Regions from separate parts of the Homo sapiens genome. Here regions 2, 3 and 4 are each linked to region 1. The links are contacts of gene promoters, found by promoter capture Hi-C in blood cells and fetal thymus (Javierre and others, 2016). All regions are on one chromosome and are shown on one strand. Each heading gives the region's core, a stretch centred on a gene start or on the middle of the fragment in contact. The rest is flanking DNA. Distances are from core to core; before and after follow the strand shown.

Region 1 (3,333 bases), core at 496-2,995:
ACGCTGTGTTGTCGAGACCAGCTCCCCACCCTCTCTGGGCCCCAGGCTCCCCTCAGTAACTTGGGGCACTCGACCCGAGCATCCGCGAAAGCCCTCCCGGCTCTCAGCGTTGAGCATTGGGATTCTAGACTGCATTTCCGTCTCTCTGCTTGGGTTCACGCGCCTCTCCACACTTAGTTCACACGCACACACGCGCGCGTCCTCGCAGCACACACTTGTCTGGTGCAGGTAAGGGAAGGTGGAGGCGGATCCTGGGGCCAAAGGTATTTAGAATCTTTCACCCTCAGCCGCCTGGGATTGCTGTGAGAGACATGGAAACAGGCTGAGCCGAGGCCTTAGATGAGAGGATGGACTGGAGAGTAAAGAGGGAGGGTTGCCCCTGCATCGAGTTTTTGGACCCTGATCCCACACCAGCTTCTCGGTCTCGTACCCGCCCTTCCGAAGAACTCCAGCAGAAAGGTCCAGCGGTCCCCTGTGCTTGAGGCCTACAGAAGCTTGTACCCAACTAGGGCAGGCACCCGGGTCTTCCAGACCACAGGACAGGACAGGCCACGGCTGAGGAGGCCTCTCTCCTGCCTCCAGGATGAACTAAAGACCCAATCCGGGATCTTCGGCCTAGGGCTGCTCTCCCAGACCTGGGGTCTGAGAAAGCCAAACCAGCCCTTTCCCCAAAGCTCTAGTTCTGCAGATTCTCAGCTCTGGCCCACTCGGAGGTGTTCTTCACCACCTATCCACCTACTGTGGGGCCCGGCCCTGGGACCTTGAACTGGCAGGTCTCTGGTCCAGAGCTAGGTCACTGGCTACCTGAGGTCTCTGAACCCCTCACTTTTCCGCTTCCCTGATTTTGGGGATTTGGGGACAGACACGGCAGAAAGCACTGGCGACGAACTCAAAAACTCCCGAACGCAAGGGGCAGCGGTTCTCCCAACCCAGTCTAATGCACATTGGCCCAGGATGTCTCAGGCCTCACCCCAGGACGTAGGGCTCTGAGGAGCTACTCCGGTCTCTCGCGGGCTCAGTTCCCGAAGTGATAGAGCAGCTCGCGCCAGAGCGCAGAACTTCGGGATTTGGCCAGCCTCCGAGCCCCAGGGCGCAGGGTGCTCAAGCCGACCACCCCACTCGGCGTGGTTGCCCTCCGCGTCCATCCCCTCAGCCCGGCCCCCATCCCCGCGAAGCCGCAGCAGACCTGAGACGCTGGCGGACATCTCGCTGTCGCTCCGGCCCGCGGCTTCCTCCTCTAGGTCTTTGGAAGCGGCCAGCTCACAGACCGGCTGGCCGAGGCTCAAGGATCCCCCCGCAAGGCCGGCCCCGCTGGCCCCCCGCGCGTCCGCGCAGCGCCGCCTGCTCTCGTTCTCCTCGCTGAGCGCGGAGTCCGAGTCCCAGCCTTCCGGGCTCTCCGCAGTCCGCCCCGCAGCTGTTCTGGTACCGGCAGGAGACGCCAGCAGAGAGTCCTCGGCGCCCCCCAACGCGCCCGCGTCCCTCTCCCCAAAGAGCCGCCAACAGCAGACAGCGGGAGCCGCGGCCACCGATGCCGCTGTGCCCCCGGGCGCCGGGCGCCCCTCTGGCGCGGCCAGCCCGCCGCGCTCCTCTTTCTTGTTGAGGATCGCCTGGATGGAGAAGGACGTCAAGGTGTTGGCGCCGCGCACAGCCATCTGCGCCGCGGGCAGGAGCGGCCGGCGGGGCGGGCAGCTGGGGCGCCGAGCAGCTCCGAGCGGGACAGAGAGCGCCGGCGGCCGCAGCGCGAGTGAGCTGGGTGTGCGAGGCCGCCGCCGCCCACTGCTGCGCGGCCCAGCAGCTCCCGCCCCACTCCGTCCCAGGATCAGCGCCGACCCTCGCCCCCACCTTAGAGGCCCACCCCGCCCGGAGACCCCCTCCCCCCGAATCCAGAGCCAGACGCTCTCCTTTCGCAGCTCAGCTGGATTATCTCATCGCTTCTCGCCCTTAGGGGCGGGCTGGGGTCTGCCCCCTCGGGGGACGTGAAGGAGGATTGGCGGGGGCCCCTCCGTGGCAGCAGTCCCCTCCCGAGCGCCGCCGGGGCGCACAGCCCGAGTCACTTTTTCTTTGCGCGTCTGTCCCTTCCTCGCCTGCAGGATTTCGCTCCTGGCCCGTCCTCCCCTTCCCTGCTGGGCAGGCTCTTCCGGAGCCCACCCCCGGCGGCGGCGGCGGTAGCCGCGGCCGCGGCCGCTGGATTCCGAGAGGCGCGGGGAACTTTTTTACCCCCTGCCCTGGTTTTATCTGTTTCTTTTCTCTTTCCTTCCCTTGCGTTCCACTGTACCACCCCCCTCCCGCCCGGGTGTCATTCCTCACTGCTGAGTGACAGCCTGAGGCCACACCCCTCCACTGGGCTGTCCCGGGCGCTCCCGGCCGTCCATTGGCTGGCTCCAGTTGGGCGACGTTGACTTTAACAGACAAAACTGGGCACGTTGCGCCGCTAAAGACAGGGTCTGACTTAACCCCTTCTCTCCTAAGCCTGGTCCTCGAAGCACCCTCCAGCAACAAGGAGGCTCATCCGACCCAAACCACGTTTCTTACCTCTGCAGATGTATCCACTTATTCCAGCGCTTTAACAGAACACTGATACTAAGTTGAGTCAAATCTGCGGAGAAAATCCAAGATAATGCAGTTCCATAAATCATGCTCGTAGTTTCTGTTCTCTAGGAAGGATTATAAACACGAAGAACAAAATGCATCCTTTTTTTTCTCCCTACAGTTTCGCCGCTTCTTCATTGCTAATGCTCTTTGCTGAAATGATCAGTTAATTAAGATCACTCTAGAAATATTTTTCTTTCCTCGTCGTCTTTGATTTGATTCGATTTTTATAGAGGAATTATAAAAAAATGGTATAGTTAGAACTAAAGTCAGGAGAAGAATTGAAAGGCATCTTTGGGAGAATTTCTGTAAATTTTATGGTCGTTTCCCTGGCAGACCAATATTGAATTTAATTGGAGTTTGTTAAGTTTTGCATCAGGAAGAAAAAAAAAACTTTCAATTTGTTTTTTTTAAATATCTCTTACTTGTGAGTTGAATAAAATTATAAATAGATATGTTTGTTTGCTTAGAAGTATACCTAGGAATTACCATAAAGTGATCCAGAAGTGACAACACTTTTTGCTCTTTAAAAAATAAGAAATGCATTGTATTATGTAATAGTAGGAACCAAGCTAAGAAACACAAATATTGTGGGTATATAAAAACATTTTAAAATGTGTTATTCCTTTTTTAATATAAAATTTGCTCAATTAACGTACTTCACTGTTTTCCATAAACTTTACCAGAGAGTTAACACCAAATACACAAACTTGAACCATTAAATACATTTAAAGGACTATGATT
Region 2 (3,333 bases), core at 537-3,036, 830 kb before region 1:
AATTATATATGATATCATATATAATAAATTATATATGATATCATATATTTATATAATAAATTATATATGATATCATATATATTTATATAATAAATTATATGTTATATTATATATTTACATAATAAATTATATACTATATATTTACATAATAAATTATATATATTATATTATATATATTTATATGATATTATATATTTACATGATAAATTACATATATTATATTATATATATATGTATATATCTCCCATTAGTTCTGTCCCTCTAGAGAACCCTCACTAATACAAAGACTAATGAAATGTAAAAGTTCATCTTTTTTTACATTGGCTGGTTAGAATTCTGCCACTTATGCCTATTCAACTTATGGAAGTTCATAAGTCTAATATCTTATAGCACACTTGACATTTGCCAACAACACTTCACCAACATTTGGCTTTAGCCAACTCCTATATAAAGGCCATTTTTTAGTAGTAGCCATTCTGACTGGTGTGATATGGTATCTCATTGTGGTTTTGATTTGCCTCTCTCTAATGATCAGTGATGTTGAGCTTTTTATTCATATAACTGTTGGCTGTATGTATGTCTGCTTTTGAAAAGTGTGTGTTTATGTCCTTTACCCACTCAAAAAGTAACAGATGCTTGCAAGGTTATGGAGAAAAAGGAACCCTTATACGCTGTTGGTGGAAGTGTAAATTAGTTCAACCATTGTGGAAGACAGTGTGGCAATTCCTCAAAGACCTAAAGACAGAAATAACATTCAACCCAGCAATCCCATTACTAGGATTGTCATGGGATTACTTGCTAAATATCCCTATCCAAACTGGTAATCCATTACTGGGTATACAAATACAAAGGAATAAAAATAATTCTATTATAAAGACGCATGCATATGTTCATTACAGCACTTATTTACAATAGCAAAGACATGGAATCAACCTAAATGTCCATTAATGATAGACTGGACAAAGAAAATGTGGCACATACACACCATGGAATACTATTGCAGCCATAAAAAAGAACAAGATCATATACTTTGCAGGAACATGGATGGAGCTGGAGGCCATTATCTTTAGCAAACTAATGCAGGATCAGAAAAGCAAATACCACATGTTCTTATAAGTGGGAGCTAAATGATGAGAACACATGGACACACAGAGGGGAACAACACACACTGGGACCTTTCAGAGAGTGGAGGATGGGAGGAGGGAGAGAATCAGGACAACCAACTAATGGGTACTAGGCTTAATACCTGAGTGATGAAATAATCTGTACAACCCTCATGACACAAGTTTACATATGTAACAAACCTGCACTTAAACCCCTGAACTTAAAATAAAAGTTAAAACAAGAAATAAAGAAAAGTCAATTTTTAAAATTTATAAGCTAAGAGCTTTCTTTCTAAGACTTTAAACGTTAAGCTTCCTATAACCTAACATATTTTACTTAACATATTTTAAATAGAGGTAAACTTGTAATTTTGAGTATTTGAGTTTCATTTGACTCATCCACCTAACTCACGGCTATGGAATAAAACTCAAAATAAGATAGTCTAATACCACACAAAAGGAATATTGTTTCAATTCAGTTCTACACTCATGTATTTATTGATTTGTGGGAATGGGAAGAAACTTTGATCCCACACTTGGAAGTGCCCCCACTTTGAGATCCTGCTGCATTATATATTTCATAATAGCTCTTTTGATATGACTTACTGTTCCTACTGGATTGTAACTACTTAAGGGCAAGGGCGAGGTCTAATCCTTAAGTGCCTTGTAAAGTACTTGGCCTGTGGTAGGTGTCTTTGAGCCACTAGTGTTTCTGAATGAACAAATTGATTTGGCAACCTGAGACACAGAATGACATTTCTGAATCATAAGTCTAACATTTATTAGCCAGGTAACCTTGATCAATGTATATATGTGATCTTTTTATTTGTGTGTGTATGTGTATGTGTCATATACAACACGTATGAGTTTTTAAAATGTCCATTTTTTCAAGAACAATAATTAAGAGTCAGACATTGTGAAGCATTCTTGCACTGAAACACAACTTGTTATTCACTTTCTCATGCAAACGCCATTTATCAGTAGTGGCCATCTCTCCCAAGGAATTACTTGCCCAATATCCCTACCCAAAACATATGGCTTTGGATATATTTAAGAAGCTTCATTTTCCTTGCTATCTTTGTCTGCACGTTTTTTATTGTCATCTGAGTGTTAACAGGTTTCTGGGAATCAATAGACGCTTTGCAAAGGCATTTTCTAGACCTCAAGGACTGGTACATCTTATAATTTGCTTCTTTGCTTATGCTATTCCTTTTCTTCCCAGTTGCACCTCTTCAGAGAGCTAGTGGCATTTCAACGAATGCTTGTCATTGGGAATAACTTCCCACTTTCAAAGGATATAATAATGCTGCAAAACATTACATATTTCTTTCTTGCTTATTTATACAACAAATATATCTTCAGTGTCTATTGCCAGTAAAGCCCCAAGAGTCAGGAAAACTAGGAAGCCTCAGTTAAAACCATCACCTTCACAGAGCCCATAATTATTTAGGAGAGCAACAGAGATCAATAAAGAGAGAATTGCAACATGGTGTGATAAAGAAATATCTTTATCTGTCTGTGAAGACATTATGGGATTACAAAAGAGTGGGACCATATCCAAGAGGTACGGAAACGATCTTGGAAGCCTTCCACAAGAAACTGTATTAGAACTAAACCGCAGAGATAAATCTGGGTTTGGGAGCAGATGGGAGGATAGATCCCTTAATGTACCCTCATTCATTTAATCAATATTGGCTTGGAACCTAGTCTGTGTCATATGCTATACAAAGTATCAAAAACATGACTTTGAATAAGAGAATCTACCTTCTTCTCAGCCGTCAAAGATCCTATTGCCTAGTAGTCAAGTGTTAGGGTATGAGTAACACAAGTCATGTTCAGAACACATAGCAGAGTTGGATGTGGGCAGGGTGGGCTTGGGGATGCAGCTCTGTGTGGGCTCCAAGTGGCTCAGATGCCAGACAAGGAGTGAGAAGAGAGGAAGACAGCAGCACTCACGGCAGATCCCAGAAGCTCTCCTTTGTCAGGCCAGGAAAACCGGGAGACAAAGAAACCAACCACTTCGTTTTCATTCATCGCAACAAATACTTAAATAGCACCTTGATGTGGTTTGGATGTGTGTCCCCACCAAAATCTCATGTTCAATTGCAATCCCTAATTTTGGAAGTGGGGCCTGGTGGGAGGTTATTGAATCATGGGGGCAGGTTTCTCAAGAATGGTTTAGCACCATCCTCTTGGTACTGTTCTCACAATAGTAAGTGAGTTCTCATAA
Region 3 (3,333 bases), core at 317-2,816, 810 kb before region 1:
TTAAAAAAATAAAAAAACAATATTTTAAGTGATTTATTAAAATAAATACCATGTCAAATTCACTTTTTACAGTAAATATTACAGGTGGCTGCATATAAAATTAATATATACAATAGTTTCTCTAGAAAAAATCTGATGCAAGACAACAAAATAACCACAACAGCAAAAGAATAATTACCTATAGATAAATTTTTATAGAAATTTAGCAGGATCGAGATGAGAAAATACTTAATAAACTACTAAGAGAGACCCATAACAAGACTAAAATAAACAAAAAAGCATACTTGTGTTTGGATAAAAAGACTCAATATCATAGAGTTTCAATTCTTTCTAAATCTATAAATTTAATGCAATAACAATAAAAAAGTATATTTTTTAGAACTAGGCAATAATAAATCTAAGTTTCATGTGGAAAAACAAATAAACAAGAATGATAATAAATGTACTGTTGCATTTCCCTGAAGTGCTTTTCTAAGCATTACAGATGTATTAAATGATACACTTTCATCAATAACATTATTTTATTCCCATATTTATATATGATGACTTCAACAAACAGAGAGGTTAAATAACTTGTACAGGTTTATACAGTTAGTACATGGCAAAGGCTGTATTTGAACCCAAACATTCTGTCTTCAGAGTCCAGAAGTTTAACTAACATACCTCATTCTAAAAGAACCAGGAATATTTGGCCAGGTGTGGTGGCATGCCCCTGTAGTTCTAGCTACTTGGGAGGCTGAGGTGAAAGGATCACTTGAGCCCAGGGAAGTTGAGTCTGCACTGAGCTGTGATTATTCCACTGCACTCCAGCTTGGGTGACAGAAGGAGATTCTTTCTCAAACAACAACAACCAGAAATATTCTGGGTGGAAGGGAGAGTGATACAGTGGACAGGTCCTATATAATATTAAATATCACAGAGCTTATTAAGAGTAATAATGACACATGTATATGCAGACACAAATCAATGGAAGAGCATCCAGAGAGAAATTCAAACATATATGAGAGCTTAGAATATGAAAATATGTCCTTTTTTTTTTAGAAAAAATAAAGAAAAAAAGAGTATGAAAATGTAACATTGTACATCAGTAGAATAAAGAGATCCTGTTCCATAGATGATAGTGGAATAAACTGGAATAAATATCAAATTATGTCCCCATCCTACTCCTTTCATCACAATAAGCTCTATATGGTTTGATGATTTCAGCTGTGTGTGAGTGTGTGTGTGTGTGTATACTCACACACACACATATATATGGGCAGATGGTAAATAGAAATTTAAAAATGGCTCTTATATACCTGAAAATATGCTCAGTACTACTTGTTATATGCAAAAAGCAAATTAAAACAACAATGCATGAGATGGTTTGGCTCCGTGTCCCCACCCAAATCTCATCTCAAATTGTAATGCCCATGTGTTGAGGGAGGGACTTAGTGGCGAGGTGATTGGATTATGGGGGCAGTTTCTCCCATACTGTTCTTGTGATAATGAATGAATTTTCATGAGATCTGATGGTTTAAAAGTGTGTGGCAGTTCCCCCTTCACTCTCTTTCTCTCCTGCCACCATGTAAGACATGCCTTGCTTCCCCTTCACCTTCTGCCACAATTGTAAGTTTCCTGAGGCCTCCCCAGCCATGCAGAACTGTGAGTCAATTAAACCTCTTTCCTTTATAAATTACCCAGTCTCAGGTAGTTCTTTATTTCAGTATGAAAAGGAACGAATACAATGCAATACCATTTTTGATGTAGCTTGGCAAAGATCAAAAAGTTTGAGAACACACACTGTTGGTAAGGGAAAAAATATACTTGTACATTGTTAGTGGAAATTTAAATTGGTTCAAACTATATGGGATTTTGCAGTAGCTACCAAAATTTAGATGCACGTACCATTTGATTCAGCTATTTGGCTTGCAGAAATGTGTCCTCTACATACCCTGACATTTGTGGACAAAGACATTTATATATACATGGATATTAAGGCCATTATTGTCTATAATATCACACTATTGAGCCTAATGTAAATGTGCATTAATAGAATACTGGTTAAATAGATTATGGCATATTTGTACAATAATTGGCTAAGCAGCCATTCAAAAGGGTGAGGCACTTCCATATGAATAAATATGGAAGGAGATCACGACACAGTGTTAAGCGGAAAAGGCAAATCAAAGACAAAGAATAAAATATATCAGAATTTCTCTAAAATAATACATAAGGGGAGAAGAAAAAGTAAGAGGTAAAATCGCTTTTTAATAGAATTTGCTGCTGTTGTTTTATTATTTTATTATTTTATGTTGTACTTAAAGATAGAATTGAATTACTCATAACTCTAAGTTCAAGCCATATTATTATTATTGCTTCACACACTGCCATCTTTTCCATTTTGTAATTTGTATTATTTGTTTTTAATAATTTATTTGAAATATAATGAACACTGCTAGGCCAACCACATAACCCAGAAAAATTACTAATAATACAAATAACCTCTAAAACCTTAATTAAAATTTGCATCTATTTGCGATTTACATCATTTGGACTTTGAACTATGCACAGACATTACATACCTAAAAAATAACTTTGAGGATAATATGATCATAAAATAATAGAAAATGTTGAAAATATCAACTTCTACTAAGGAATAATGGGTTGTATTCACATCTCAACTAATAACAGGAGTTTTAAAATTTATGTTTGTTAAAAGCAAACAAAGGAATATATGTGAGTTTTTAAAAATTTATGTTATCTGAGCCTCTTCTGTTTACCATATTCTTAAAAAAATTTCCTGAGAGGCCAGGCATAGTGGGTCACACCTGAAATCCCAGCACTTTGGGAGGCCAAGGTGGGTGGATCGCTTGAGCTCAGAAGGTTCAGACAAGCCTGTGCAACATGGCAAAACCCTGTCTCTACAAAAAATACAAAAATTAGCTGGCCATGGTGGCACATGCCTATAATCCTAGCTACTCAGGAGGCTGAAGCAGGAGGATCACTTGAGCCCAGGAAGCAAAGGTTGCAGTGAGCTTAGATCTCTCCACTGCACTCTAGTCTGGGCGACACAGTGAGACATTGTCTCAAAAAATAAAAATTAAAAAAACTGAAAGAAAAATTCCTGTGATAGAGTTCACTATTAACTTTTTGCTAATTTTGTTTACGTGTAAGGTAAAGTGCATAAATCATGAATGATGATTGCACAGCTCAATGCCTTTTCACACACGTATCCACAAAGCAAATCAGGATCACTCCATCACCATAGAGGCCCCAAGCATGTCTGCATTCCAAAAGGAGGCACTATGCCGATGTCTATACAAATTGGTGTTGCCAATTCTAGAACCACGT
Region 4 (3,333 bases), core at 281-2,780, 680 kb before region 1:
AAAATGCATCATTATGCAAGATGATGGATATCTTAATTTGCTTAGCTATAGCAACTACTTCACTATTTATATTAAAACATAATGTTTTGCACCTAAGATGCATACAATATTTTTTAAATCTCATAAAATACTTAAAAGCATGCTGTTTAATTTTCTTTTCTTTTTTCTTTTTTTTTTTAATTGAAACGGAGTGTCACTCTGTCCCCATGCTGCAGTGCAGTGGTGCGATCTCGGCTCACTGCAACCTCCACCTCCCGGGTTCAAGCGATTCTCCTGCCTCAGCCTCCCGTGTAGCTGGGACTATAGGCACACACCAACATGCCCAGCTAATTTTTGTATTTTTAGTAGAGATGGGGTTTTGCCATGTTGGCCAGGATGGTCTCGATCTCTTGACCTTGTGATCCACCCACCTGGGCCTCCCAAAGTGCTGGGATTACAGGCATGTGCCACTGCACCCAGCCTATTTAATTTTCAAGTGTTTGAGAGTCTCCTGTAATCTTTGTTATTGATTTTAGTTTAATCTATTAGAATGAAAGAGTAACATTTGTATGATTTCAAGTGATTTTAATTTTTAAATTTGTTTTGTGACCTGGAATACATTCTATCTTGGTGAATGATCTCTGTCCACTTGAAGACAAGGATGTACATTCTTCGGTTGTTGGTTGATATGTAAAACGTCAGTGTGAAAACATCCAGCTTTGATGATGTTGTTCAGTTTTTCTATATCCTTGCAGACTCAGTATCCACTGAATCTATCAATTACTGAGAACGGAGGTTGAATTACTGAGAGCAGAGGTAATACATCTAAATATAATGGTGGATTTGTATACTTCTTTCAGTTCTGTCAAATTTTGTTTCATATGTTTTGAAATTCTATTGTCAGTACTTATTTTACACATTGAGGACTTTTATGGCTTCTTGAGAAATTGACCTTATCATTATGTTATGTCTCACTTTATCCCTATTGTTCTTTGCTCTGAAGTCTACTTTGTCTGATACTAATATAGCTAAATGTTAACGATAGTTTTCTTTTTAAAAGAAAAGCTTTGTTCTGAAAACAAAATTCTTTAACAGTTATTTTAGAGGAAGTCTGCTGGCAACAAATTCTCTTAGTTCTTCTTTATCTGAGACAGCTTTATTTCACTGTCATTTCTGCAGGAATTTTTCACTCGATGGAGTTTGACTGTGTTTTTCTTTAGGCCCTTTAAAAATGCTTTTTTTACTTCTTTCTGGCTACCATGGTTTCTGATGAGAAATCTACAGTCATTGAAATTGTTGCTCTCCTAAGTAATGCATCATTTTCTCTGTCGTCTTCAATATTTTTTCTTTACTTTCCAGCAGCTTGATTATAATGTCTCCAAGTGTGAATTTGTTTGTTTGTTTGTTCGTTTGTTTTCTGTTTGGAGTTTGTTCAACCTCTTAAATCTGTAAGTTTATGGGTTTTGTCAAATTTGAGAGGCTTTCTTACTATTATTTCTTCAAATATTTTCTCTGCACACTATTTTTCATCTCCTTCTGGGACTTCTTTGACATAAATGTTAGATTTTTATATCTTCCCATTAGTCTCCGAGACTCTGTTCCTTTTTCTCCATCTTTTCTCTCTGTGTTTTTCAAATTAAATAAATTCTAATGACATATTTCAAGTTCACTGACTTTTTCTCCTAGCATATTCATTCTGCTAGTAAGCCCCTTCTGTGATACTTTTACTTTGGTTAATGTGTTTTTCTGTTTTTAATTTCCAGTCATTTCTTCTTTATATCTTCTATTTGTTTTTGTTAAGACCTTCTACCTGCCCATTTATTTCAACAACGTTTACCTTAACCTACTGAAGCATTTTAAAAATAGCTATTTTGAGTCTGCCAGATAATTCAAACTAGCATTTGTTGATTTTCTGTTTCTCTCAAGTTAAGATTTTCCTGATACTTTATATATTGAGTAATGCTTGGATTGTGTTGTAGATATTTTGAGTATTACCTTATGAGATACTAAGTCTTGCTTAAACCATATGGATAATCTTAAGCTTTTAGTGTTAGTAGATCCATGCATGCACAGCTTGGGGTGTGTCCAGAAATTCACAAATAATTTTTAGGTGAATTTTTGGAAGTCCTTCCTCTCTGAAATCTCAAAATCTTCTCATTTCCTAGGACCCCTCTTTTTAGCCTACTATTCTAAAAGCTGATTTATTCACCGGAGTCTTCCATACTCCCCTTTGCTGTGCACAGGTCTGGGGTTAAGCTGTGGAGGACAGAAAAGGTAGGGGTGGGGGTATAGAAATAAGAGTTTTCTCCTCCCTCTTCAAAGCACAGCTTCTGTATCCAACAGGAAGCTTCTACTCAGAATTCTAGGTGTTTGTGAGAAGCTACAGGCTGAAATATAAGATATTTTGCAAATAAGCATTTACTGTATTCTCTCTGGCCATTAGGAAATCTGTCCTTACTACTCAAGCTGTAACGAGAGTACTTCTCTTGAGTTCTTTCATGTTCTGGGGTGGGTTGCACCAGGCCACGTGGATACCAAAGTAAAAAAGAATGAAAAACTCACTGCTGATTCAGTGATACATTGAATTTTGGCCTTCTTCGCCACCCCTCCTGCTACTAGTTATTTTTTAGAGTACTCAAAGTATCTTCTCCATTCACTCAGTCCAGGTTTTATAGCTGCTTTCCATGGAAAATCCAGGATGGAGTATTCTTACTTCATCCTTCCCATATCTGAATCCCCTGCATTGTGTTAATTATTCTAAAATCCAGAACATTCTTCTACGGGTAGGCTTCTCCAGCTCTTTCTTTTCCAAAATCTAATGAAATTAAATTATGCTGTTTCCCACATGATTGCTGTCCTGCAAAAATTGGTGCACACAGAATAAAATGTTAACGGAACTTCTTAGAATTGTGAAACACAAAGGCTGTTTCTTGCATCTACATGTGTCCACACTATTCCATCATAATTTGATGCCCTTCCTCTGTCATCTGTGTTTGCATAGTTAACTCCCACTGAGACTTTAAGATTCAGATCAAGTGTTGGCTTGAGCTTGAGGTAGGTGTTCATGTTCTGTTTACACTCCCATGGTGTTCTGGACTATTTACAAATGCTTATCTGACTAGCTGTGTCTCCTTTAAGCACTCTGTTATTTTTATGTGTATATCTCCAATGCCTAAAAGGAAGTGGATGTTTCATAAATGTTTGATGAATGAATGAATGAGAAAAGAATAAAAATTCATTGAGTGCTCACTTTATAAATAATGTTATTTACTCTGCACAATCTTAAAATAACATAATTGTATTAGACATGTTTTGCAAGTGACTGTCTCTCACTGGTGGGCACTTGCTCAAGTT

What was found. The method cuts DNA at HindIII sites, captures the fragments that hold promoters and counts their contacts. A CHiCAGO score of 5 or more calls a contact.
Region 2: a contact is called between a fragment that was not itself captured here and the fragment with the promoter of NKX3-2 in region 1, in 5 of 17 cell types (activated CD4 T cells, M0 macrophages, non-activated CD4 T cells and 2 more). The highest score is 10.4, in activated CD4 T cells.
Region 3: a contact is called between a fragment that was not itself captured here and the fragment with the promoter of NKX3-2 in region 1, in 2 of 17 cell types (M1 macrophages and total CD4 T cells). The highest score is 7.1, in M1 macrophages.
Region 4: a contact is called between a fragment that was not itself captured here and the fragment with the promoter of NKX3-2 in region 1, in 3 of 17 cell types (M1 macrophages, endothelial precursors and M0 macrophages). The highest score is 11.1, in M1 macrophages.

Annotation. Positions count from the first base shown.
Region 1 is chr4:13,542,763-13,546,095 of GRCh38, forward strand. It overlaps NKX3-2 (NK3 homeobox 2), which reads right to left and starts at 1,746. Exons shown (of 2, transcript NM_001189.4): 1 at 1,187-1,746. The coding sequence starts at 1,652. LINC01096 (long intergenic non-protein coding RNA 1096) reads right to left here. Exons shown (of 1, transcript NR_015450.1): 1 at 3,314-3,333. The HindIII fragment of the contact is 11,352 bases long and covers 493-3,333 here.
Region 2 is chr4:12,715,343-12,718,675 of GRCh38, forward strand. All of the region lies in intron 2 of LOC107986181 (a long non-coding RNA gene), which reads left to right. Among named protein-coding and RNA genes, the nearest start is that of LINC02270, 490 kb to the left of the region's middle. The HindIII fragment of the contact is 746 bases long and covers 1,414-2,159 here.
Region 3 is chr4:12,736,398-12,739,730 of GRCh38, forward strand. No RefSeq gene overlaps it. Among named protein-coding and RNA genes, the nearest start is that of LINC02270, 510 kb to the left of the region's middle. The HindIII fragment of the contact is 6,284 bases long and covers 1-3,333 here.
Region 4 is chr4:12,858,552-12,861,884 of GRCh38, forward strand. No RefSeq gene overlaps it. Among named protein-coding and RNA genes, the nearest start is that of RAB28, 620 kb to the right of the region's middle. The HindIII fragment of the contact is 976 bases long and covers 1,043-2,018 here.